7 separate regions of the Homo sapiens genome follow, and all the other regions are linked to region 4. The links are contacts of gene promoters, found by promoter capture Hi-C in blood cells and fetal thymus (Javierre and others, 2016). All regions are on one chromosome and are shown on one strand. Each heading gives the region's core, a stretch centred on a gene start or on the middle of the fragment in contact. The rest is flanking DNA. Distances are from core to core; before and after follow the strand shown. Region 1 overlaps MED13L (mediator complex subunit 13L). Region 2 has its middle 65 kb from the start of LINC02463. Region 3 overlaps MED13L (mediator complex subunit 13L). Region 4 holds the start of MAP1LC3B2 (microtubule associated protein 1 light chain 3 beta 2). Region 5 overlaps MED13L (mediator complex subunit 13L). Region 6 overlaps MED13L (mediator complex subunit 13L). Region 7 overlaps MED13L (mediator complex subunit 13L).

The links. The method cuts DNA at HindIII sites, captures the fragments that hold promoters and counts their contacts. A CHiCAGO score of 5 or more calls a contact.
Region 1: a fragment that was not itself captured here is called in contact with the fragment with the promoter of MAP1LC3B2 in region 4 in 9 of 17 cell types (total B cells, total CD4 T cells, monocytes and 6 more); the score reaches 10.1 in total B cells.
Region 2: a contact is called between a fragment that was not itself captured here and the fragment with the promoter of MAP1LC3B2 in region 4, in 1 of 17 cell types (neutrophils). The highest score is 5.2, in neutrophils.
Region 3: a fragment that was not itself captured here is called in contact with the fragment with the promoter of MAP1LC3B2 in region 4 in 1 of 17 cell types (non-activated CD4 T cells); the score reaches 5.1 in non-activated CD4 T cells.
Region 5: a contact is called between a fragment that was not itself captured here and the fragment with the promoter of MAP1LC3B2 in region 4, in 10 of 17 cell types (total CD4 T cells, neutrophils, naive CD8 T cells and 7 more). The highest score is 10.6, in total CD4 T cells.
Region 6: a fragment that was not itself captured here is called in contact with the fragment with the promoter of MAP1LC3B2 in region 4 in 3 of 17 cell types (non-activated CD4 T cells, naive CD8 T cells and total CD4 T cells); the score reaches 6.8 in non-activated CD4 T cells.
Region 7: a fragment that was not itself captured here is called in contact with the fragment with the promoter of MAP1LC3B2 in region 4 in 1 of 17 cell types (total CD4 T cells); the score reaches 5.3 in total CD4 T cells.

Annotation. Positions count from the first base shown.
Region 1 is chr12:116,042,741-116,046,186 of GRCh38, forward strand. The region is part of intron 4 of MED13L (mediator complex subunit 13L); the gene reads right to left. Among named protein-coding and RNA genes, the nearest start is that of MIR620, 100 kb to the right of the region's middle. The HindIII fragment of the contact is 7,745 bases long and covers 1-3,446 here.
Region 2 is chr12:115,949,245-115,952,611 of GRCh38, forward strand. No RefSeq gene overlaps it. Among named protein-coding and RNA genes, the nearest start is that of LINC02463, 65 kb to the left of the region's middle. The HindIII fragment of the contact is 1,366 bases long and covers 778-2,143 here.
Region 3 is chr12:116,004,630-116,008,375 of GRCh38, forward strand. It overlaps MED13L (mediator complex subunit 13L), which reads right to left. Exons shown (of 31, transcript NM_015335.5): 11 at 2,782-3,007; 12 at 1,677-1,782; 13 at 1,240-1,364. Among named protein-coding and RNA genes, the nearest start is that of LINC02463, 120 kb to the left of the region's middle. The HindIII fragment of the contact is 5,074 bases long and covers 1-3,746 here.
Region 4 is chr12:116,558,106-116,561,673 of GRCh38, forward strand. It overlaps MAP1LC3B2 (microtubule associated protein 1 light chain 3 beta 2), which reads left to right and starts at 1,276. Exons shown (of 2, transcript NM_001085481.3): 1 at 1,276-1,328. RefSeq lists enhancers at 771-1,280, 1,120-1,459, 1,680-1,729, 1,770-1,869, 3,359-3,568 and a silencer at 3,359-3,568. The HindIII fragment of the contact is 18,876 bases long and covers 1-3,568 here.
Region 5 is chr12:116,021,960-116,025,599 of GRCh38, forward strand. It overlaps MED13L (mediator complex subunit 13L), which reads right to left. Exons shown (of 31, transcript NM_015335.5): 5 at 497-642. Among named protein-coding and RNA genes, the nearest start is that of MIR620, 120 kb to the right of the region's middle. The HindIII fragment of the contact is 2,361 bases long and covers 297-2,657 here.
Region 6 is chr12:115,983,735-115,987,391 of GRCh38, forward strand. It overlaps MED13L (mediator complex subunit 13L), which reads right to left. Exons shown (of 31, transcript NM_015335.5): 18 at 3,375-3,554; 19 at 2,532-2,755; 20 at 446-638. Among named protein-coding and RNA genes, the nearest start is that of LINC02463, 99 kb to the left of the region's middle. The HindIII fragment of the contact is 3,827 bases long and covers 146-3,657 here.
Region 7 is chr12:115,966,149-115,969,827 of GRCh38, forward strand. It overlaps MED13L (mediator complex subunit 13L), which reads right to left. Exons shown (of 31, transcript NM_015335.5): 28 at 2,792-2,949; 29 at 1-95. Among named protein-coding and RNA genes, the nearest start is that of LINC02463, 82 kb to the left of the region's middle. The HindIII fragment of the contact is 4,146 bases long and covers 140-3,679 here.

The DNA.
Region 1 (3,446 bases), core at 61-2,560, 520 kb before region 4:
AAAGGACAGATGAGGCTGATAGCGTAAAAAAAAACCCAGCATCCTGTCTGACTGAAGTATTAGCCTATGAGGTGGAATGAGAAAAATCAGTATTGTTTGAATAGAAATAATTATAAAAAGAAGGAAATTTTATCTGGGTATGGTGCCATTACACTGTTTACCCTCAAGAGCTGAAGTCTCAGTTCAATTCTTTCAAGGATAAAGGGCTATATTTACCCACTGTTAGCCGATGTTCATGTTAAACAAAGCCCTCACAGAACGTAAACTTTTAATTTTTTTATTCAGTAACATTTAACTTCTTTCTGTGCCTGGGGTCATCACTGGTAAGAATTCCAAGAAATATTCATTCTGTGGAGATACATTCAGCTATCCTGGAAGAAGAACTGTACCACCTTAAACCTCAGGAATGGTTCTATCCCCCTCTCCCATTTAATCATGATACTCTGAATCCCTTCTGCATCAATTATGCATACAATAGAGTACAGTACATAAAACCACAATAAGCAATACAGAAAAAAAAGGATTAAAGCCACGAAAAATGTATTAATTTATTCTATGCAATGCACTTGTAATTCTTCCACTTTCAGTCAAGATCACAGTACAGTTTAATAGTCTGGTTCAGGGACCAATTAATCCTTTTATATTTAAATCAATCACTGACTCCTCTCCGAATAATTTAGCTTCTACATGCTGCCTCCCATTTGATGTCTTTGGGGGAAAGAGCACAGTTAACACTATGTGGTACATTAATCATGTTTAGTAACAGAAAAAGAAATGCATTATCAGAGAAATCTAATACAAAAAGTAAAACATGCTCTAAAACATGTTAGGATAATCAGTACATGTGTCACATTTTTCTTAATAAAAGCAGGCAAGTTAAACTGGGAACCAAGAGTATACTCTTCATCTGGCTTTTCATAGTATGTGTGCATGCATGTATCTATTTATCTTGACTATGTATAAATAGATATCCAGGAATAAAGCCACTCAGCTCAATCCATACCCCTACGCACTGGCAGATTCTTCTCCATCCCAACCTAAAGCAAATGACTTGATGATGCTCAAACAGTGGGGAAGGGGAAAAGTAATAGAAAGGCATGTATTTTATTCAAACTGGCATATGTTTGGCACTTTGCCACAAAGCTGAGTCCTTTTCCTAGAACAACTCAGAAGCCTAATTAATAGGGTTAATTCAATGTAATATTCATGTGTAGTCTAAAGATTCTTACCACTGCATATAAAGCAGATGTCCATGTTTTAAGAATATTTTCTCTAAACAAATGTGTCAAGAAAGCATTAAGAGTTCATGTGACCAAGAATAACGCCATTGTACTATATGCTAGCTCTATTTTAACCAACAGCAAGAGAAGGAGGTCCTCTTTTTTGTTCCTGGATCTTAATCACAAGAATAAATCAACTTGGTATTCTAGTGCCCACCCCATGGATTACAAATGCAGGATTTAGTTTCAGAAATTTCAAAGCCAACTTAAGCACTTTTCAAATGTTCCATAAGTAAGTGTTTTCAAAAAAATTAACCAATTAAGTTTCTATGTAGATTCAGCACTGAGAAAAGTGAAGTCTGTATCTTGGCATAACCCGAATGTATTGCTGACTCAGGAGCTCTGCCAGTTCAAACAACTCCACACGAAAGAAAGCGCAAGTGAATGTTAGCTCTGTGTTCACTTCACACCAACACAGAGAAATCAAATGGTCAAAGTTTAAGACCAGCTCTGTGATACTAGTGGGAAGAAGAGTGAAAAAAGAGGCCATACTATAGGTGGAAATCCTAACTCCTAAGAACACACAACAGCATCTAAAGACAGATTCAAAAGCCTGGCTAGATTATCTCACTGAAGGAATATTTCTCTGAGCATGTGAGCTGAGACAACATTTGAGAATCTGGTAGACAACTATGACCCGCAAATAATCATCAGGTAGAAAAATATTGTCATCCTCACTAATCCCCGGAAAAGTCACATCAAAGAAACATCTGGAAAGAACCCAAGTCTTCTGTTTCTTTTTTAAGCCTCAGAATAGAACAGAACACCACTAATCAAGATTAAACAAGTGAACCAAAGCTCATCATCAAAAATCATCTCATCCCTAGAATATGAAGTTGTATCAGCTAACAAGCTACTGTCAACAGGATGAGTCTTGTGTCATTTTCATGGTGGCTTGGTAAATTTGGGTGGATCCATTCATACTCCTCTGTCTAGTTATGTCTGTCAAATGGTATGCAAACTGTATATGCAAAAAAGGGTATAGTAAGAGACCCTACAGATAACTACAAAACACACATAAATCCAAGGAGTTAAATGCAAGGAAAAGAGGGGGCCCCTCCTTCTCTATTTATTTGTTTGGGTAAAATGCACCGTTATATTTTAGTGACTTTCTCAGGCAGTAAATCCAAAGATGGAAAATATTACATGTTCTTTCTGGATTCAGTATAGAATAATGTTCAAAACGATAATAAAATGCCTAAAATCCTTTTGAACACTGGTGTTCCTTTCCTTTCTCTTCTCTGCTTTTAATCTGGTCATCCCAATCCTGGGCCTACATAGTACTGAGTCCCCCTGGCTGAGACAACAAATGAAAGCCTCAGCACATCCACAAACTGCCCTTCTCTCATGCTCAGCTCCTGTCTGAGCTGCTCTGAAAAATTCCCTCCCATCCTCTTGCTAGCAGAGGCTGTACTCGGCTTCTAGATGGGGGTCTTTGGTGCTTCTTAACTGCCTCTGATTTGGTAGGAGCTCTTCCTTTACTAGCCCCTGTGGACTTGTAACTAATTATTTAATCTATGGACAGTCTGTACTGAAAACTATGGTATGACATAAAATATGAGTCACAGCGTATCTGGTAATAGTATATATGTGGTGAAAAATGCTCTGCTATAAACCTCATATTTAACATAATTTGACCAACATTAACATAACAAATTTTCAAGTAAATAACATCATAAACATTAGGATTACCAAACGGGATCCAGTTCAGAGTTGCTATTGTATCAGCAGCCATCTTTAGACAGGTTACAAGTAAAATGGGAAAAGAAAAATATTAATGCAATAAAAATTATTAAGTCACAAAAAATGTTTAACCAGCCTTTCAAAATCACCAATAACAAGACATATTTTAGGTAGATAAATATATATATATTTCTATAATAAAGTATTTCTTTTATTACCAACTACCTAATAAAGTAGTAGGTAATCAATAAAAATTACATGCATGAAGTGACATTTCTAAGTCAATATATAAAATCAACTCTGGAGAAAGACATGCTTAAAAAAGAAAAAGCAGGCTTAGCATTTTATTTATAAAGCCAATATTAAAATGCAGTCTTATCATTCTCTAACTACTCTTTAACATACCATGTCTAAGTCAAAATATGGTAGGCTGGTTTATAGTCACTCACACACACAAAAAAGAATGTTCTGATATTTGTGAAA
Region 2 (3,367 bases), core at 211-2,710, 610 kb before region 4:
CACTCAATGCCTGTCCCATCCATGCGGGGATCACTGCATTTCTCTCTGCAGTAGGTGAAGGCAGTGCTGTGAGCATCACATGTTACAGGCAAGGAAAGAGACACAGAGAAGGCCCATGGAGAGCAAGCCACGGCAGAGCCAGGACATCGATAGCACATCCTGGCTCTAAACCACGTATTTTTGAAATGTTAGGGAGGGAACTTGGAGAAAACAGATCTTGTCTTGGAAGTGTAGAAGGTTCCAGAAAAACGACCAGGTAGGATGGTAGGAAGGAACTCATCTCTCCAAGGTTCAGGGCATGCAGCTATTCCACTTGACCATTCGGTCTGTTGAATGTCTCCTCTGTACCAGGCAGGAAGGGGCCGTGGGAGAAGAGTCCACTGATAACACAGTGTTGTCGGTGCCCTGATGGGGCATCAGCTACTCTGGGAGTCCCGGGAGGGACAGAGGGGCCAGCCCAAAGCTAGAGATGGCTGCGCAGAGGCAGCAAAGACCAGAGAGTTTGGGCTTTATCAGCACCAAGACTGGGGTGAGAAGTGCCTCAAGCAGAGACGGCTTTCTAGGTGTGAGCCGCATGCAAAGTGGAGCTTTAGTCAACGAAGCGGAAACAAGGACTGCAAGACTTGAGGGTTTCCAAGGCTCCTGTGAGAGGAGCTCCCTCTCCTGTTGATTTCTGTTGCTCCTCTCAGTAACTCAAACTCAGGTGGAAGTCACAGCATGCTGGACCTAGTTCTGTCCCTGTCCCGCACTGTGTTGCCTTGGGAGACCAGCCTAAGAAGCTTGCTCAAGACCAGATCATGGTGAACCTCGTTGGGTTCCCTGCCTAGGAAGTTGGACTTCACTAACACCAGTAATAGCTTGGAGATTGGATTGAAAGAGGCAGGTTGCAGACAGGATGGCATGCAAGGAGGCCACCGTTGAGATCTGGGTAAGAGGTGAGGGGAAGGAATTGTGGGGGGGGACATAGGACATGGTATCCGGCAGGTCTTGGTGATGGAGGAGTCGTGATCTAGATGCCTTCATTGTTTCTGCCTGGGGCAACTGGAGACCTGCAAGAATCGTTCGGGTCCTGGATCTATAAGGCCCTAGACAGAACCCAAATCCATGCCTACCTGAGATGATCTGGCAGGCAGTGAATGTGCTTGGCACTGTAAACCAGTTCCCCCACCCTCCATCTTGGTTTCTAAATGGTGTCTGAAGAATATTCTGGGCAAAAGGCACTCTGTAAGGACAGGGTTTAGCCGGAGTTGGAAGCAGGTAAATTGGTCTCTGCTCTTTCCCATGTGCCATCTCCCACCTTCCTTGGCTACAGGCTCTCCTTTGGCCTCATGCTCTGCAAGATCCTTTTGCCATCCTCCTCGAAGATGTGAGATCTTCCCTCTTGTAGCTAAGCCCGAGAGGCTACCTCGACACACTGTTCCGAGCTACAGGGAGAGGCCCAGAAGAGGTCTTTTTCCAGCTGTACAATCAGGACACTCACTCGGGGCGTCTGATTCTGTGTCCTCATAGTGGTGTGGAGGGAACAGCAGGACTGAGAACTGCGCTCTCCATCCCCATCCTGGGGCAGGGAAGGTGTATTAGTCCATTCTTACGCTGCTATGAAGAAATACCTGAGACTGGATAATTTATAAAGGAGAGGTCTAATTAACTCACAGTTCCACGTGGCTGGGGAGGCCTCAGGAAACTCACAATCATGGCAGAAGGCACCTCTTCACAGCGCGGCAGGCCAGAGAATGGGTATCCAGCGAAGGAGGAAGCCCCTTATAAAACCATCAGATCTCGTGAGAAATAACTCACTATCACAAGAACAGGATGGGGGAAACCACCCCCATGCTCCGATTATCTCCACCTGATCCCTCCCACAACAAGTGGAGATTATGGGAACTACGATTATGATGAGATTTGGGTGGGGACACAGCCAAACCTTATCAGAAGGAAAAGCTCATAACGGTGCAGAGAGGTGGGTACCACTGTAAATTCATAGTCTCAGGCCCGCTCATTGTTCTCCTCGGTTCTCATCCCTGATCTGCACCAAGGCTACTGCACATCCTGAGACCCACCCACCACTTCCATTTAACACTCCTTGGCATCCTCCTTCACAAGGAAAGGAACAAAGCCATCAACCAAGGCTCTCTCTCCATCAAGCTTCCGGGTCCCTCCTCCTTGGACCCATCTGTCACTCACGTCCTTCCCTGTTCTGGCACTGACGTGTGCTCCAGGCCTCAGCAAATTAAAAAGCAAACCAATCAGCCCCCCTGACACCTCCATGTCCTACTCTGGCTACCTGCTTTCTCTCTGCTTTGTTCCTGCATGCACTGCAGTCTGGCCTCTGCCCCGTCCTCCCCGCTGAAATCATTCTCAGCAAGGTCACCAGTGGCTGCCTTGTTCCCATAGCCATTTTGAGGACAGCTGTCTAACTGCTGAGGCCAGAAACCTCCCGCGTCCACAACCCACTTCTGAAACCGCACACCCTACTTGGTCAATAACCACTTTCTGTTGATTGTTTTTCAATAGCCCTCTCTCCCTCTTCACTATCCATACCAGGGTGTGGCCCACCATTATTCTAGCTTCCATTTTTACCCCCTTCCGATAGCCATAATAGTTGTTTTTTTTTCTTTCTTTCTTTTTTCTTTTTTTGAGACAGGCTCTCACTCTGTTTCCCAGGCTGGAGTGCAGTGGCACAATCTTGGCTCACTGCAACCTCCACCTCTCAGGTTCAAGTGATTCTCGTGCCTCAGCCAAGAAGCTGGGACTACAGGCACCTGCCACCACGCCCTGCTAATTTTTGTATTTTTGGGTAGACACGAGGTTTCACCATGTTGGCCAGGCTGGTCTTGAACTTCTGACCTCAGGTGATCTACCTGCCTTGGCCTCCCAAAGTGCTGGGATTACAGGTGTGAACCACCTCCCCCAGCCATGATAGTTCTTCTAAAGGTCAATCTGATCATTAACTTGCTTAAAATGCCTTCGTGAGTCCTCATTTCTCTCAGACGTGTCGGGCTGACCTGCAGGGGGCTCCTGTGGCCTCACGTTTCTGCATATGCTGTATCCTCCACCTGGAACACACCCCACCTCTGACAGCTGCCTCCTATTGGCTCTGCGGAGCTTCTGAAAATACCACTTTTCCAGAAAGCTTTTCCCAGAGTGTAAGCACTCTGTCTTCACCCTATCCCAGATCCCCCACTAGGCTGCACCTGCTCTCACTAGACTATGCGCTGCCCCAGGCCAGGGATGATGCCTGCCTTATTTCTTGTGGTTCCCCCATGCCTGGTTCCAGAGAAGATCCGATGACTTTTAGAATGGAGAATCTGAGAATGACAAAACATGGGGATGAGGGGAGAAGAGAGAGAGATATTCAAGATGACAC
Region 3 (3,746 bases), core at 708-3,207, 550 kb before region 4:
TGAAAGCTAATCTAGTTCGTTTTTGTTGTTTAATCAAGGCTCATTCCACACTTAAACTAATGTCCCTCCCCCTTCCTCTCAATGACCCCTTCTTTCCATATTTCAAGTACAATCCATTCTTCCAGACCATTATGATCTCCTCATCTTCTAAGTACTTATAACAGTAATGGTATATAATATCTGTTAGATACATTTTATTTTAAAGTTTGGGCTTTAGAAATGTTTCCTACTTAACTTTCAAGCCTTAACTTAAACACTGCTCCCCATCACTTGGTCACGTCGTATCTGAATGTCCAGCAACTTTAGATTCAGGTCTATTATTGTACTCACAGCAATAAGTACATTATAACTTTATGTGCCATTTCTCCTTATGTCTGTGAGTGTCTCAAGTATAAGGGTGGTAATTTAATCATATTTCTAACCTCAATGACTAGCCTTAGTACCACCACAAAGGAATTAACCTTCAAACAATTAACAAATGTATGTAAAACAGATGAATAGGGAGGTAGATAAGTGAATGAATGAAAGAAAAGTAAACTAATAAGCTGACCTTTTTGAAAACAGAGCCTATCTTACTCATCTCTAGATCTCCCAGAAAAAACAGGCACTTGTATTTGCCCAAAGGTACAGAGTTGGTTAGGAGGATGAGGACACACATTTCCTGACTCTTAGTTCTGCTGATCTCCAAAGAATTATAATAATTATTCTTCTCTGTCATTTTAATTGTATGCTGCCTTGTAGTATTTAACTTCTATGTATATAAATTCTATTCCCCTACAATGATGCCATGATCTTAAAAAGTATAAATCATATTTGCATACCTAACCTCTGACTTATTAGATGAATAAAAAGTTATGTGGGCATTACTTTAAAAATCAAACCTAAGGGACAATGTAATACATTTCTAGTAGTCCTGTGATATTTAGAAGAATTTATTACAATAAATGTGAGAGATTTTAATATGTACAACTGGAATACACTAATGAAAAAGATCCTTCAATGAACAAAACTCGAGGTGGATACACTACACTAATAACCTTTACAATCTTTTCCAAGTATACAAACTTTTTTTATACAGCATGACTAGATTCCAGTATACAGACATTTATAAAGAACATTCAGAACCTGAAATAAGAGCCCCCAAATTCAGGACACCAAACTATAAAGAAATACTACAACACTGATATAAAGTCCTTTCATGTAGCGAAATTTTTGTTTATGTAGCTACGGCAAACTCACCCCAAGTTCGTCGTCATCAGAATTATCAAAGATGTTGTCTAAGTCATGCAGGGAAGGTGCCAAATCTGTTACCTGTGTAAGGCTACTGGAGCCAGCTCTGCCAGCAGCATTATCCTGCCGGACATCTGTAGGAAAGGAGGCAAAAGACACAGAATAAACAACTCCACCAAGCGCAAAGGAGTAGGGAGAGGACACGGATCTCAATGAACATGACCTGCCTGTGAGTTTTTCCCTATGGTTTTAGTTAAATTTAGAGACAATTATTTCCAAATATGTTTATCAGTTTTGAAAGGAACTGAAAAACAAACTATGAAAAATATATTAAAGATGAGATGAAATTCTTATTACAATAAGAATAAAATTTTACATTGAGAAGCATCTCCTTTGCATTTCATTTTAGCAACAATCCAAGTGAGGCAAATAATCATTGTACACACCTGTTTTAGTAGCAGAACTGAAAATAGACATGGCATTTTTCCCATCAGGCACCGGCGTGGAATGACCTGGTGTAGTGACATCCTTGGTACCAAATCCATCCTCTGACTGTATAATAAATTCAGCCAAACAAAACACATGAACACCAACCCAAAGTGTGAAATATGAGGGAGAACACAAAGAATTAGAGGGTAGAATGGAACTTGTTATGAGCACAAGTATGATAAACCATGGTCTATGCAACCAAAGGAAGTAAAAGATAGGTCCTTTCTCTGGAATTTCAACAGAACCATGAGCTCCCCACTTTCCCCTCAATCCTATGGGGTATTCTGAGTGAATCAGTGTTTTATGCCTAAGCAGTACTGGTGGCATTTGATTACAGACCTGCCATGGTGTTAAAAGCTGCCTTTAACAACATTTTAGATGCTAAATTATAGATTTGGCTTTCTGGGTCTAGGGAGATCTGTATAAAACAATCTAAAAAGCATTCCCCTAACTATACCGGCCTCTTATAATTGTTTTATTTCCTTGATTCTCAAGAATACCTATTTCAATGGCCCATATTTTAGAATGTCTGAAAATTTGAAATTAAAGACAGCAGACACAACCAGTACTCATTTTTATGATGATGAAACCAGTAAAATTAATACTGATAGTCTATGGGTAGAGTTGATATTAACCCAGAGAATATATAGGTACAGCGCTCAGCACAGTAAGGATAAGAAGCGCTCGATAAATTGTGTATACCTACTGTTACAAACATTTTTTCCTTTACATTTTGGGTAGTTCGGAATAATATTTTAAAAGAAATAGGGAGCATAGGCCAACAAGAATTAGCATATGAGAGAAAACATGCACTGTACAAGCTATAGCCTGGAAAATATGAGGCTTCATTTATGTTCGGCTGACTTTTAAACAAAGGTGAGCCATGACATAAAAAGGAACAATACGCTGTTCAATACAATAGTACCAAGAGCATGAATATGGGGACAGAGCAATCAGGCAAGACTATCTCAAACGTTCTGCCTCCAAAGTCTTCCCACACATGTTGTACTGACATAGATAGAAACCCACACCATGCTGGACTCTCTCTCTGTTAAATGGTACCTTATTCTTTTTCAGGGAATCTTTCTCCGTCCCTTGTTTGCATTTCTTGTTGGCTGTAAAGATGTATTTTATGTCACCATCTTCAAAGGTATATGGGTCATTCACTTCTCCCAAACTGTCTCCAGGTTGTTGTGATAGAGGCAATGGGTCAAGGAAGTGGAGTGGCTGCAACTGGGGCTGTTTGTCTTGCCAGATTTTAAACCGTTTGTTAGGTTGTGCTAAGAGTCTAAAAGACAAAAAAAAAAAAAAAAAAAAGAGCATTTATGCCTTAAAGCATTTACAAAGTTTAAACTTTTTGTAAAAACAACTAAAAATTCACCGATATAGTGATTTGCTTTTACAGTTTATATTCATGATTAAATAAAAATTAGCATACTTTGTCAAGAATATATGTTTTTGTCTCTGGGTCCATCAATTCCACTTAAGAGCACAGGTTCTCAGGACAGACTGCCTAGTTTCAAATTCCATCTGTGTCATTTACTAACTGCATGGCCCTAGTTTCTCAGTTATAAAATTAACGTAATAATATGGTACAGTGAAGATTAAATGAGATCATCTATGTAAAGTTTTAGAATGGGTGGCTCAAAAGAGCTATAAATATTATACTAGATACATGATACATACACCTGAATGCAGGCAAAGCCTTCCTCAAAAATGTCAACATACAAAGAAGGCACTGACAGCAGTATGGAAAGTCTTATAAAGCTATATTCTTTAATTAACAAACAGTAGGGCAAAAATGTATTAATATATTTGGAGTGTACTTAAATGGCATAAAGAGTTCTTTATATGCCCATGTGTCAAATGACATGTGTGCTAACCTATAAGTAGGACAAAGCATTTGACCATTAAACATTTTCCATATCCGGAGTCAAGAAGGACAAAGAAAAGCCTACTTCAATTTTGAATCTGAAAGTTTAGCAGGTAGAGATGGGGAGGGAGCCCATGCCCTTCCGGTGGACGGG
Region 4 (3,568 bases), core at 26-2,525:
GTACTCACGGGGAGGGAAATGAAAGGAGAGGATTGGGGAAGAAACACCTTCTATTTTTTTTTTTTTTTTTTTTTTTTAGAGACAGGGTCTTGCTCTGTCACCCAGGCTGCAGCCTGGACCTCTTGGGCTCAAGGGATCCTCCCACCTTAGCCTCCTGTGTAGCTGGGACCACAGGCGTGCACCGCCACACCCAGCTAATTTTTTTTATTTTTTTGCAGAGATGGGGTCTCTCTATGTTGCCCAGGCTGGCCTCAAACTCCTGGGCTCAAGTGATCCTCCCTTCTCGGCCTCCCAAAGTACTGGGATTACAGGGGTGAGCCACCTCACCTGTACAGCTTCTTTGGAGAATGGGCCTGGGCAGGTCAAACAGGGGCCACTCTACACCATCATGGCACAGCAAGAGCTGGGCTATGTAGGTTCAGTATTCTTTGTCATTTAATCCTTGTGACGACCTCGTGTCATCATTGCTGTTTTACAGATAAGGAACTGAGGCTCAGAGAGGTTCAGTGTCACAGCTAGCATTTCACTTACATATCACAGAGCAAAGGCTCTCTTTGTCCAGAGACAACGTGCCTTTAGGTGATAGAGCTAGGACTGGAACCCAAGTCTATCTGACTCAAAGTCCACACAGCTTGTCCCCCATCCCGCAGGGACCTCTCCACGCTAGTGAGCCCCACGAAACCCCCTCAGTGCTTCGTTCCAGTCTTTTACCTTCAAGCCCAGTCAGCGAGTTCTTTATTTCCACAAATGGTGCTATTAAACTAATGGCTTCGGGAGCTATAGGCTGGCCTCGGCACAGTTACACATCTCTCCACCCACCATGTTCTGGCTTCCAAATAAATACATTGGAAATTCCAGGAGCCGAAGCCCATTTGGAAACGTTTCCGGGCCACCATTTTGCTTTGGGATGGGCAAGAAGAGACACCCTAAACTTGAACTCCTGTCTGTGCAGCCTCCAGCCGGCCAGGCGCTAAATAAGGCCACGGCCCGTTTCCTCCTTCAAAAGTCCCTTGTAAAGGGCGATAGCAGACCCCATCAGGCAAAAAGCTGAGAAGCCAGGGTTGAAATAGAGGCCTCTTTCTGTTTGGTCAATCAGCAGCTGCAAAGGATGCGTAGGATGGAGCTAAATTTATTTGTTCCTTTCTTTCTCAGCAACAGCGACGAGGCCCGAGGTGCAGCTGTCTCGCCTCGCCTGTCTTTTGCAGGCACCGGCATGCACAGAAGATGGCTCTCCGGGAGGAAGATTCCTTTCCATTTTGTTCTCTCTCTGCCTCCGCAAGGCTCGCAGCCACCTCTCGGGAGTGCAGGGCCAGATCCTGTGCCAGCGGGTAGGAATATGTAGCTGCCTCCCAGCCCCAGGGTGGAAATCATGACCTTTGAGAAGCAGGCAAGCTGCACGGCATAGATACTCAGGCCTGGTGAAGGCAAAGTGGGGCCACACCCTAGAAAAACCACAAAAGTCCCCACAGCCTCTGCTTTCACTAGTCAGACCTGTGGGAAACTTGTAAGACACAGTCCATGTGATCGGCGGGTGGGGGCATGTTGGGAGGGGCCTTCCGAAGGCCACAGCCAGGCTGGCAGGGCAGAGTCCTTTCCAGAATTTATCTGTTTGCTTAAAGCCCAGCGGAGGGGCCACCTTCAGTCAACCCTCCAGCATACTGGTCCAAGTAGTTTTTTCAAAGTGCTTTGTGAGACTTTCAAAAGGTACCCATGGGGAGGGAAGTGAGAGGAGGAGGAGGGGACGGTGAAGAAACAGCTTCTTTATTTCTAGCCTTGCTTGAATGGCTTCTTGACGGTTACTGCTCCAGTTTTGCTGAGTCAGAAGAATCCCACAGCCGCTCACCGGAAACACAGCTGTTGGGCAAAAATAACCACAGAGCTGAGCATCATGCACCTTCCAGAAAAGATGGCAGAAAACCTCAAAACAAAAGAGAAATACAAAACAATAGGAGACACTGTCAAGAAAAAAAAAACAAAAACAAAAACCACCGCAGCTCACTAACCGATCCAAGCTGGTGGCGCTCTCCTGATCTCTCTCCACTCCCAGGCCCAGCAACGGCTCTGAAATAAAGCTAAGTTTGGCTATATATATATATATATATATATATATATATATATATATATATATATATATATGTATGTATATGTATATATATATATTTAGATAGAGTCTTCCTCTGTCGCCCAGGCTGGAATGCAGTGGCGCGCTCTCGGCTCGCTGCAACCTCTGCCTCCTGGGTTCAAGTGATTCTCCTGCCTCAGCCTTCCGACTAGCTGGGATTACAGGTGCGCCACCACGCCCAGCTAATTTTTGTATTTTTAGTAGAGACGAGGTTTCGCCATGTTGGCCAGGCTGGTCTCGAACTCCTGACCTCAAGTGATCCGCCCACCTCGGCCTCCCAAAGTCTTGGGATTACAGGTGTGAACCATCACATCTGGCCTACTTTTACACTGTAGTGGGTTTAATAGTGTCTCCCCAGTCACACCTCCACCAAAAAAAGAAAAGATATGTCCACAGTCTAATGTGCTGCAGCACCTGTGAATGTGACCTTAATGGAGAAAGGATCTTTGCAGGTGTAAATTAATTTTAGGATCTCAAGATTGAATCATCCTAGACTACCTGGGTGGACCTCAAATCCAATGACAGGTATCCTTATAAAAGGAAGGCAGATCCAGCTTGGGCAACATAGGGAGACCCTGTTTCTACAAATAGTTTAAAAAAAAAAAAAGGCTGGGCATAGTGGCTTACACCTCTAATCCCAGCACCTTGGGAGTCCAAGGTGGGCAGGTCACTTGAGGCCAGGAGTTCAAGACCAGCTTGCCCAATATGGCTTAACCCCATCTCTACTAAAACTACAAAAATTAGCTGGGCATGGTAGTGTATGCCTGTAGTCCCCGCTACTTGGGAGGCTGAGACACAAGAATCACTTGAATCCGGGAAGCAGAGGTTGCAGTGAGCTGAGATTGTGCCACTGTACTCCAGCTTGGGCAACAGAGCACGACTCCATCTCAGAAAAAAAGCTGTGGGGGACAGTGGTGTGTGCCTGTGGTCCCAGCTACTTGTGAGGCTGAGACAGGAGGATCTCTTGAGCCCAGAAGTTCGAGGCTGCAGTGAGCTATGATGGCACCACTGTACTCCAGCCTGGGTGACCAAGTGAGACCCTGTCTCAAAATAAAAAAAAAAAAGTGTGGCAGAGGTAGATGGGTAGATTAGACACACAGAGAGGAAGTCCCAGAGGAACTTGGAAGTGAGGATTGGAGTTTTGCAGCTACAAACCAAGGATATTAGGGCACTCATAAGAAACTAACAGAGCCACCCCAGGCTTCTGTTTACCAGGTCCTCCCCTGGCCATCTCCTTCCCCTTGTCTGGGCTGAAAACATTCACAGCATCTTGTTTGCGTGGACACCGAGTTTCCCTTTCCCCAGACTTCATAACGATCAGGAAGCAGGATGGGGCCTTGAGGACTCCCGAGACTAAGGGAGGAGTCGAGGGTCCCTGGTTGTAGATAAGTCTTGGCCACAGGCCAGGAGTGTGACCTCATTAACCAGCAGCCATTAGCCATTCAC
Region 5 (3,640 bases), core at 227-2,726, 540 kb before region 4:
TAAAATTAAAACAAAGTTAGGAACATCGCTGAAGAAACTATACACTGTATAATTCTAGAACTTTGATTCTGATAGAAATTTCAAATACTAAGTATTTGGTTTATCTTCTATAAACCATTACATTCCTAAAACCTTGTTAATAAACACAACAATGAAAACCTTTAATTTGTGACTTTGGTCAATTACTCATTGAATTCTATTTTTCAAGTATTTATTGATTTTCTTTTGTTCTGAAGGAAATTCTACATTTTATTCTTACAAAAGAATACACATAAGACCATCTTATATATGCGATAAGCTTCAGCGAAAAACTAACACACTATTACTACTTAATTATGAAATGGTAGTCTTTTCTTCCTTCTTCAAAATCTGACCCTTATGCTTAGCTTTAAAATGTCCATTTAAGATAAGGTCTCACCCTGCAAAACTTTACTGGGCAAGATGGTTATCCACTCGGTGGCGGATAGGGGTGGAGAGCAGGAACACCCATACTTACCTTGAAATGGTGCAGGTGAAGACTGAGCCATGTGTATATGCTCCTCATTGATCAAATAAATTGGCTGGTGCTGGGCAATCTCCACACTTGTGCATACATTACTTTCTCCATGCAGAAAGAATGTGAAAGCACAGGACAAATGCTCACTACAAAAGAGAGAATGAGAAACTCAACTTTATATTTTGGTAGGAAAGGGTGCTAGAAACAGGAACTACAGGTAAGATACAGCTCTACTTTATCAACCGTCCAGTAAGGCTGACTTCTAATTGTGGGCAAAAGAGAAACTTCTAATTCAGTATTGACAAACTAAGCCATCAGATAAATCTGGAAATACGAATATACTGCATTGAGAACTTTTGTAAGTTACTGTACAAAATGTTTCCAGTTTCATTTGCATAAAATCTAACTCTTATGCCAACTATAAACACCTAAGAACAGAGAAGGAATTGGAATAGTTTTCTATTGTCTCAGTGTCTAGCACAAGACAAGCACTCAAAACGTGTTAAGTCAAATAAATGAATAAACACTTAAAAGACTTATTTTTTAAAGTGGCCCACTGACCCAGCATAACAGCTCACACCTGTAACTCCAACGTTTTGAGAGGCTGAGGCAGGAGGATAACTTGAGGCCAGAATTCAAAACCAGCCTGGGCAACATAAGACCTCATCTCCACCAAAAATAAATAAATGAATTAGCCAGGCACGGTGGTGTGCACCTGTAGTCCTAGCTCCTGAGGAGGCTGAGGTGAGAGGATCGCTTGAGCCCAAGGGTTCGAGGTTGCAGTGAACTGTGATCAAGCCACTGCACTCCACCATGGACAACAGAGCAAGACCCCTGTCTCAAAAAAAGTGGCTTACGAACAAGATCAGAAGGCAACCCCTCAGCACATTTTTTCAAAATTGTAACTTTGGCCCTAAGATAGCCATAACACATCTCCATTTCTCAAAACATCTCGTAAGAACATTTTCCTGATGAAACAAAATCACTTTTACTAAATAAAGCCAAGCAACCACAATTTTTAAAAGTCATCTCAAAGATGCTGCTTCTTTTCAAAACTTCTCTAAAGTATTATAAAGTACATTTGGAGTACTACTCAAAAAAAAAATGTTGTTTCAAGTGCAAAATCATAATGCTTGAAAGGAAAACATGAAATAAAATTAAAATGTTTCTCTATCACATAGTGACACATATATATTCTCCTTTGACCAGTATGTTTAGATAACATTTTTTGTTTTACCAAAATATGACATTTCACCAGTAGGAAACACCCAGTCTTGGTATCTGGGTATTTAACATGACAGAGTAAATTCAAGATAGTGACTACAATTTTAAAAGAATTTTGAAAAAAAGTTTTAAAAACCCTTGATACCATACTTCTAAGTTCACAAAAGCAAAAATGCACATAATTTGAACATCTATAGGTATAAAATAATATAAACAGTAAAAATACTCTGTCCTTTATGAAAATGACACTAGAAACACACCATCTTCTACATACAACATTATGTCTGGCACATTAAATAGGACCAAAATATAGTTTTACTGATTGTGGATTGGCTTATTTTTCAGCTGTAAATTTCAGCTAAGGGAGTTTGAGCTGACTTATCCCTATTCATGCCCAGTATCCCATGTAGTTACTAGCTTATTTATAAGAAGCTGGTGGGAGAAATAAATGTAGACTACAGCCATAGAACATGTTCTCTATTCCACCGAGTCCCAACTGTGCATCAGAACAAATACAACCAACATTTATCTAAGAATGGTGCAAGGAGCCTGAAGTGACACTGAAGAAAACACAGTCCTTGCCCTCAAGGAGCATATTCACTAGCAAGAGACTGATATGAAAACACATGAATAAAATAAAGCCAGGCACAAACATACAAATAATAACAAAATGCCATAGAAAGGCTAACCAGTAGTGATTTCTTCAATTTAGAATATACAAACAAATGCTTTAAGAAGAAAAGAACAAATGAAAATTTGAGAAACGTCCATTCAGGTATTTTGCCCAGCTTTTAAATCTGGTTGGTTTCTGCTACTGACTTGAGTTCCTTAGATATTCCAGATATTAATCCCCTGTCAGATATATAGTTTGCAAATATTTTCTCCTATTCTGTGGGTTACCCTTTCACTCTGTTGGTCAGTTCCTTTGCTGTGCAGAAGCTTTTTACTTTGATATAACCCCATTTTCTATTTTTGTTTTTATTACCTGGACCTTTGAAGTTTTATTTTTAAAATCCTTGCCCAGATCAATGAATGTGAAGAAGGATTTCTCCTATGGTTTCTTCTAGTAGTTTCATGCTTTTTTTTGGCGGGGCGGGGGGGGGGGGGAGGTGATCTTGTTTTTAAATTGAGAAATAGGGGTCTAGTGTCATTCCTCTGCATGTAGAAATCCAATTTTCCCAGCATCATTTTTTGAAGACACTATTCTTTCCTCTAGTATGTGCTCTTGGCACCTTCTTTTAAATCAAGTGTCTGTTGATAAGAGAATTTATTTCTGGGTTCTCTATTCTGTTCCATTGATTTACGTGTCTGTTTTTATGCCAGTGTCATGCTATTTTGGTCACTACAGCTTTACAGTATACTTTGAAGTCAGGTAGTGTGATGTATCCCCCCACCACTGCTTTGTTCTGAAAATAAAACATGCAAATGGCCAACAGGTATATAGAAAAAATGTTCAACATGAGTAATCATCAGGGAAAGGAAATCAAAATCGCAGTAAGATATCCCTTCACTCCAATTAAAATGGACATCATCAAAAAGATAACAGATAACAAGTGTTGGCAAGGATGCAAAGAAAAGAGGACCTTTATACACTGTTGGTGGGAATGTAAATTAAGACAGCAATTATGAAAAACAGTATAAAGATTCCTCAAAATGTTAGAAATACAACTACCATATGATCCTGTAATCCCACCACTGGTGATATACCCAAAGGAAATGAACTCAGTATGTCGAAGAGTTATCTGCACTCCCTTGCTTATTCATTATTATTCACAATAGTTAAGATATGGAATCAACCTAAGTGTCCATCAAGGGATGAATGAATGAAGAAAATGTGGTATATAATACACAATGGAATACTATTAAGTTATAGAATGAAATCCTGTCATTTGAGACAACATGGATGAACCTGGAGGACAT
Region 6 (3,657 bases), core at 809-3,308, 570 kb before region 4:
AATTCTACAGTAGAGGCTTGTTTGAAAAGAGAAAATCAATCACTTGTGATAGTCTCCTTTCAGACTGATTCCATGTGCCTGCCCTAAAAAATGAGAAGCTATATATTCCACAGTCATCATGGGACATTATGCTCCTAGGTTTACAAGCTTCTAAGATTCTCTTCAGAATATGGGTTAAAACTAAGCAGCTAATACCAAGTCATGCTGCTAAGTTTTCAAAATGTGCAGTAATTAGACATGATTAGGCAACTTTGAATAGTTTTTAAAAAATATATGTCCATATAGAAATTAGCATTAAACTGCCCAGAACACCAAACTGGACCTTAACAAATACAGCATTACTTGAGACAAAAGAAATATAATGTTGCATCTATAAAAGAAGGGATGGGACGGATTTGCTATTTTACTTCTCCAATTCTACTTTGCCAAATAAATTCCCATTTACCTAGGTGATGGCGGCAAACTTGCGCATAAAGTTTGAGTCTGGAATGATTGTCATTCTCCTCGCCGCTCCAAGGCTGGTTAAACCACTCACTCACAAGCTCATCTGTCAGCTTCTGTGCCACAGTTTTTCCCACGCGCATGATCCCGTCACGTAGCACTTTGCAGATGGGCTTGTGCTGCCCAAGCCTACACATCTGATATCATAGACAAGATCATTAGTTATAACAGGAGCCATTCCTTCATTCAGTACCAATGGTTAGCAAGGGAGATTCTTTAACATACATATGGAAGCATTTTCCTTTTTCTTTTAGGGTTATCACATGCAATCAAACCAACATTACAAGTTGGTCCTTTCAGGTAATTGTAATGTACCCTTAAATTGCTATCTGTCTCTCTAAAACTTGGACTAGGCTCTCTAAAAAAAAAAATGTTTCTTCACTCAAGCCAATTCCTCCTGTACAAGAGGAGGCTGCTGAACACTACCTGATTGCTAACGGACAAAGAATTAGCAGATTCCTGCCTACTGTTGCTAACTGAGACATATGCCCACTAAAATCTCCTAAGTAATCCCTACTCATAATATTTTCCCATAAGATAACATTAAAATTTTATGGGCCATCTGTTCTGTTACAGACATTTGGAGATCACCAATAGCAGGGGCCACTGAAGCAGTGAGTATGCTGATCGCCTTTTTTTTTTTTAAAGTAAATAGGACAAGGAGATTCTGCTATTAATCTCCATGACGCTAAATGGGTGCTTATGGCAGGGAATATAATAAACCTGCAAAAAGTAAACTACCTGTTCACCAGCAGGAGAGCCCGTATTATTATCCCTTACTAGAGTAGATGAAGTGAAGGCTTACTAAGCCCCGACAAAATCCTCTAGTGTATACTCTTCCTAAGGAGGTATCAATTACTGCCGAATAAGCAACCCTAGTGAAGTCATTAAGAAAAATTTAAAAGAGTGTCTGTCTGTACCCTCTTAAAAAGATCTGGCAGTGCTTTTTACATTTTGTAACTTATGTTGAAGGTTCCATTCAAGGAAATGGCTGGGCTTTAAAACTGCTTACACAAATTTTCTGTTAATTATGATTTAATAGTATTATATATGCCCTGACCAGACACTGTTCAGAAATGAATGTATCCAAGGCAGTGACTTAATTGATGTCATTACATCATGTTAGCATCTCCTCATTTCTTTGTAGCAACAACGTAAATTTACTATTCCGTGCCTACTCATACATTTATAGATCATGAATGTCCTGTTTTGGAATATTTTGCAATTCAGCTTGGAATCTTATTTAAAAACCACTTTCATAATGTTTACATGCCTATCATAGTACTAAATATTTTACAGATATTAATTTCATTTTGCTGAATACAAAGACATTAGATGTATCAGATACAAAGAACTTAGTGCATATATACTTTGGCATAAGAAATGTGGCACTTATTCTTCAAAGACAGACATGATTCTATTTTTTTTAAAGCAACAGGAATTCATATACTAAAGATGTAAAATTATCTGCCTGGTTTTTACATTATTATAGGAATTATATTTTTAATCAGTATCAAAGTTTCAGTATTAAGATGTCATGTTAAAACACAACAGGGACATTATTCATTAAACTTATGTTTCAATTCAGAAATTTGCAAAAGACACATTTTTACACTGTTGTCAGGAACTCTCACCTACTCACCCTGTCCCTCAATCCATCCAGTAAATAAATACAAAGAGTAGATGTGCTCTTTTGGTAAAGCTCATCTTCTACATAGCCACACTTTCCCCTGGTGAGCAATATTCTTCAACTTTTAGCACATAAATGGAGAAGAGAGAACTGATGGGATTTTAAGACGTGTGGTAAGAATGGGAGGGGAACGTTTTCTAAATCTAACAAATATAAAGCAAAGATGGGAAAGCAATTTGCTTCCAGAAAAATTGGCCAATTCAATTCTCTTCTTCATCCACCTGTTTGCAAATTTTCTCTGAGATTTACTTTCAAGACATTTGTCTTGAAATTTAGTCATCACTATAAACAATCAGAGGATCCAAGTCATAAAAAGCAATTTTCACAGTAACTTCCTCACCTCGTATACAGCACTCAAGTCCCTGAAGAAAGTTTTGGCTCCTTCGAGCAAGGCCTCATTTTCTGGACACACCACAATATAGGCAACATCACGGTGGCCCCCATATGGGTCCAACAAGAGCCTCTCCCAAAACGGCAAGGAGAATGGCGAGATGGTGAGGAAATCCTTGTCATAGCCTACCAGCAGAGTGGGGATGGGCAACGGCTCAGGAGATTCTTCCGAACCTAAAATGACATTGTAGTGTAGAAAGGTGCTAGAGAGTTTTTCCCACAACCTTACAATTTTGAAATTCCTGGTGCACTGGTCTTAATTCTGGCATCTGAAATGTCACTCCATGTTCACAAGACATTCTTAAAAGTATTTTTGAAATCATCTAATTAAATGGTCACTGATGAGGACTCTTAATTAAGTAAGTCAGAATTTGTTTATAAAGGTTCAGTAAGATCAGAGGGCAGACTAGAACAAGTTAAAATTAACTTTCCAAGCAGCACTACATCATTTCCTTCAAGATAAGCATTATGATTCTGACTATGATGAAGTAGACAGAACTGGCCCAGAAGTCCATCCAGATGAAAATGCAGTGAGGATTGGGAAAATGAGGAGAATCTAAAAAATGCACTTTTTAGGGATTAGCTTCCTCACTGACCTGGATTATGCCAAGGGTGGTAGGAAACTTGACTCCAAAAGTAACTTTAGGAAAACAAAGAGATTATAAAACTAAATGGTCAAAGAAAAAGACTCCCCTATTTTGTTAGTGACGCAAGGACTTGACAGTAACTAACGCTGCTCTTCACTGAACAGCACTGAAGTCAGAAGGAATTTTAAACAGGACAAAGACCCTACCGTAGGTTCCCCGTCCTGCCATTTTATGGAACTGCTGCCAAGTGAGTGGTCCCTGCACATGCTGGATGTTCTCCCAGGTCCTGCCCGTGCGCTTCTTTTGGATGGCATCTTGGAGAAAGGGCTGCAGGGACAACAGCATACGAACCACATCCTGGGAGGAGAGCATGCTGATGTCCAGCACTGGAAGAGAAGTGAGAAGAAACAGAGAAGATAAGGGGGCTAGCACCCTCCTCTTCCTCACCATCACCTCGAGCCTCAGTTATATTCAGAACAATGACGTTAT
Region 7 (3,679 bases), core at 963-3,462, 590 kb before region 4:
TCAGCTTTGGCAGTTGATACAAAATACCCAAGGGCCAGGGGCTGCTGCTTTAGCTCCTCTGGTGCTTCTCTAGAAAGAAGACGCTCACCCTGGCTCTGAAAAACAAAAATCCCAAAAACATGATCAGCATTTATCTTAAAGCTTGAAAAATGAACTTTCATCAGTTCACTCTGCACACTGCAGTGAGTGATCCCCTTTGTGGCAGCATCTCACAGAAAACAACAGGTGACTGAGAAAGGTAAGCGGGGCCAGCATCGTCTTTGCTGCACACATAGAGAAGATACCAGCAAAACTGACAGCCTCAGTCAAGTAAGTACAGATTTATTTGCTTGGGTTTCTTTTCTAAGGGATGTAAGATCTATTTCATGGCATTATGATGTAACAAACTAAAATGGAAAGATTACAATCTCTGACAGCAGAAGGCTCTACCACACGCAGGTGCTCTTTCACCAGCAACCAGCCAAAGACACACAAGCGCACCAGCCTGACCAGGACAATGTGACACCAGTATGTGCACAGCACAAAAGTTCCTGAGCTGCCAGTAGTGCAAGATCTGCTCACAGAGAAGCCATGTTTTCATTTGCAGCATTCCCCTTAATAAGAGACTCCTGGAAGAGGCTATGTTTTGCTGCAACTGACACTTTTCTTATCTTTTAATTCTTTTAGCTAGCTTCATCAATTGAAAATGTACCTTTCATGCAAGCAATAAGTAATGCATTTGTTTTTAAAAGTCTCTGTTTATGCTGGGTGCGGTGGCTCACACCTGTAATCCCAGCACTTTGTGAGGCTGAGGCGGACAGATCACTTGAGGTCAGAATTTCGAGACCTGCCTGGCGAACATGGTGAAACCCCACTCTACTAAAAATACAAAAATTAGCCAGGCACAGTAGTGCACGCCTGTAATCCCAGCTACTCAGGAGGCTGAGGCAGGAGAATCCCTTGAACCCAGGAGGCAAAGGTTGCAGTGAGCCAAGATCATGCCACTGCACTCTAGCTTGAGCAACAGAGTGAGACTCTGTCTCAAAAAAAAAAAAAAAAAAAAAAAAAACCTTCTGTTTGGAAGGAAAAAATAATCTGCAGCTACTACATCAAACTGTATCAATTCTGAGTTGGTTAAAAAAATAAAAAATTTACTGCCACTTTGAACGCATTCTCTTCCCTGCTGTAATGTCTTAACTGGATATCAAAGAATGTTTAATGGTTCAGAAAAAGGAAATGCTGAAAGCCTCTTGGAGGTCACCTGGCTGCAGGTGCTCAGGATTGAAAAAGGCCACCTGGCTAGCTTCAGAACAGCACTGTCTAAATCATGGCATTGAATTAAAGACTTTAGTGCTTAAGGCTCCAAAAAAAGGGAGAAATACAGCATACCTCTGTTTCTTACACAACTAACATTACAACTTCAATAACCAATTCTTTGTTAATGCATAAACTGAATTACAAAAACAGGTACTGGGAGGTAGTTGCTATTATTCCATTTCACAGATAAGGTAACTCAGGCTAAGAGAGGTGAAGTTAGCTTGTCCAAGGTCACAAAGCCCGTAGGCCCAGAGCTGCAATTCAAAGTTGTCTTTAACAGACTGTGGGGCATGCATTCTTAGCTGCTATGCTACTTGCCTCCAGAATTCAAATTAAACCCAACTTTAAAAAAATAGACAATGTAACATTTGTGTTTTTCGTTCCTATCACAACCGTTTCCCATGAACAAATTATCATTAACTGGTAAGTACTGCAAAGGAAACAAAGACCCTTAAAACCCCTTCCTTCCAGAAGAGGGTAATAGGGGCAGGTATAACATGGGAACAGTCTGAGATGCCCTCCTCTGGTCTTACCTGCTCTGTGACTAATCTAAGCTATAAACCTTTTTTCTCTCCAGCGTCTAATAAATTCAGTGCTGGGAATAAAAGTCCCCCCCCCCCCCCGATGAAAACTGAAGTCCTTTATGTCCATCTTTGTGTCTAAATAAATGAGTGTGAGCAGGCTGCTTATGCTTGTTCAGTCTAAGATACCAGACATAGCTATTTTTCAAAGTCTTAACTCCCCAGTCTCATAACATTTTAAATAAACAGTACAATACAGTGATGCAGCAGGAATCATCTAACTGAAGCAAAGTTACCACAAGCTGTGGCAGAACCCTCTAACTCTTAAATCTTCTGTTGTTCATCCACCTCCAATATCCCTGAGATATTTAAAGATGAAACCAGTTGTAAGCTCTGGTTTTTTCCTTAATACTCTGGCGTTAACCTGGACACATCTGTAAAATCAATCTCCTGGCGGCTCTTGCCATTCCTGCAGGTCGGCTAGAAAGAAGAAGGCTGCAAAATGACTAAGCCAGGACACGCAAAGAGCACGGCAGGCTCCTTTCAGAACAAGCCATCACCAACGTGTTCTTCAATCAGCACAATTACTCTGCATGTTGAGTAAGTACGGTTGTTGTACTAATCTCTTAAAAGCCACTATTTTGGCAAAAAATAAAACCATTAAAAAACTGGGAAGCAGCAAGCAACTAGAACTAATTTTTGCTAAGAAAACAATGCATTAAAAACCCTTGCATCTGTAATAGGACTATTCTTCTGATAAAACTTATTCATCAGAAATAATAACATATTTATTTCAAATTCCTGCCTTCTATTCAAAATGGAACCATAGTCAGTTTCCCACACTTATTTCTCTTGTACCAAGGACCCAGACCATCAAGAACTGTGCAAGTAGGAACAAGATGATCAGATGTCCAGTGGATTATCTTCCTAAAGGCTATGGTTGTCTTAAACAACGTACTCCAAATCATCCTTACCCGACTATGCTGGAAGTGAGAGCCCACACCAATTCCAGAAGGAGAGCCTGGGGAGGGTACTGGGGAAGAGTTGGGAGAGGAATGGAGGTTCCCAGTCATTAATATGCCAATATCATTGTCCATATCATCTGGGAATGGAAGGTCAACAAACATATCATCTAGAGGGAAGGGGGGAAAAAAAGCACAAAAATTAAAAAGATAGTCCACATATCAATATCATAATAATCCAACCTAACCTATGTCATGTTTTGTTGGCATATGGCTATTATGGACACACACTGTTAATAACTTAGATTCAGTTAGGACCTACTGAGTGCAAGCTATTACAAATTATTCTTTCATTTTGTACTCTCTCCAATGATCTCCTTATGTACAGTATTAACAGAATGCAATAAAGAATATAACATAAAAACCTACACTCTGCATAGCCTCCAAAGACACATAAAAGTATGGTAAAAGAGCTAAAGCAACAATTTAATCATTAAAATTGACACCATTCAAAAACACAGTAGACTCCATCTATGTATCCACTTAGCATCTAAAACACCAGAGGCTGAATGAATGCATGTTAATGAGTGTGAACTTGCCCTGAAAATGGAGACCTATTCCAAAAGCAAATCAAAGCACAATGTTTTCTCTCTTTTTTTTTTTTTGAGATGGAGTCTCCCTCTGTTGCCCAGGCTGGAGTGCAGTGGCACGATCTCGGCTCACTGCAACCTCTGCCTCCTGGGTTCAAGTGATTTCTGGCTAATTTTTGTATTTTTCATAGAGATGGGGTTTCACCACGTTGGCCAGGCTAGTCTCAAATTCCTGACCTCAAGGGATCCGCCTGCCTCAGCCTCCCAAAGTGCTAGGATTACAGGCATAAGCCACCGTGCCTGGCCCAGC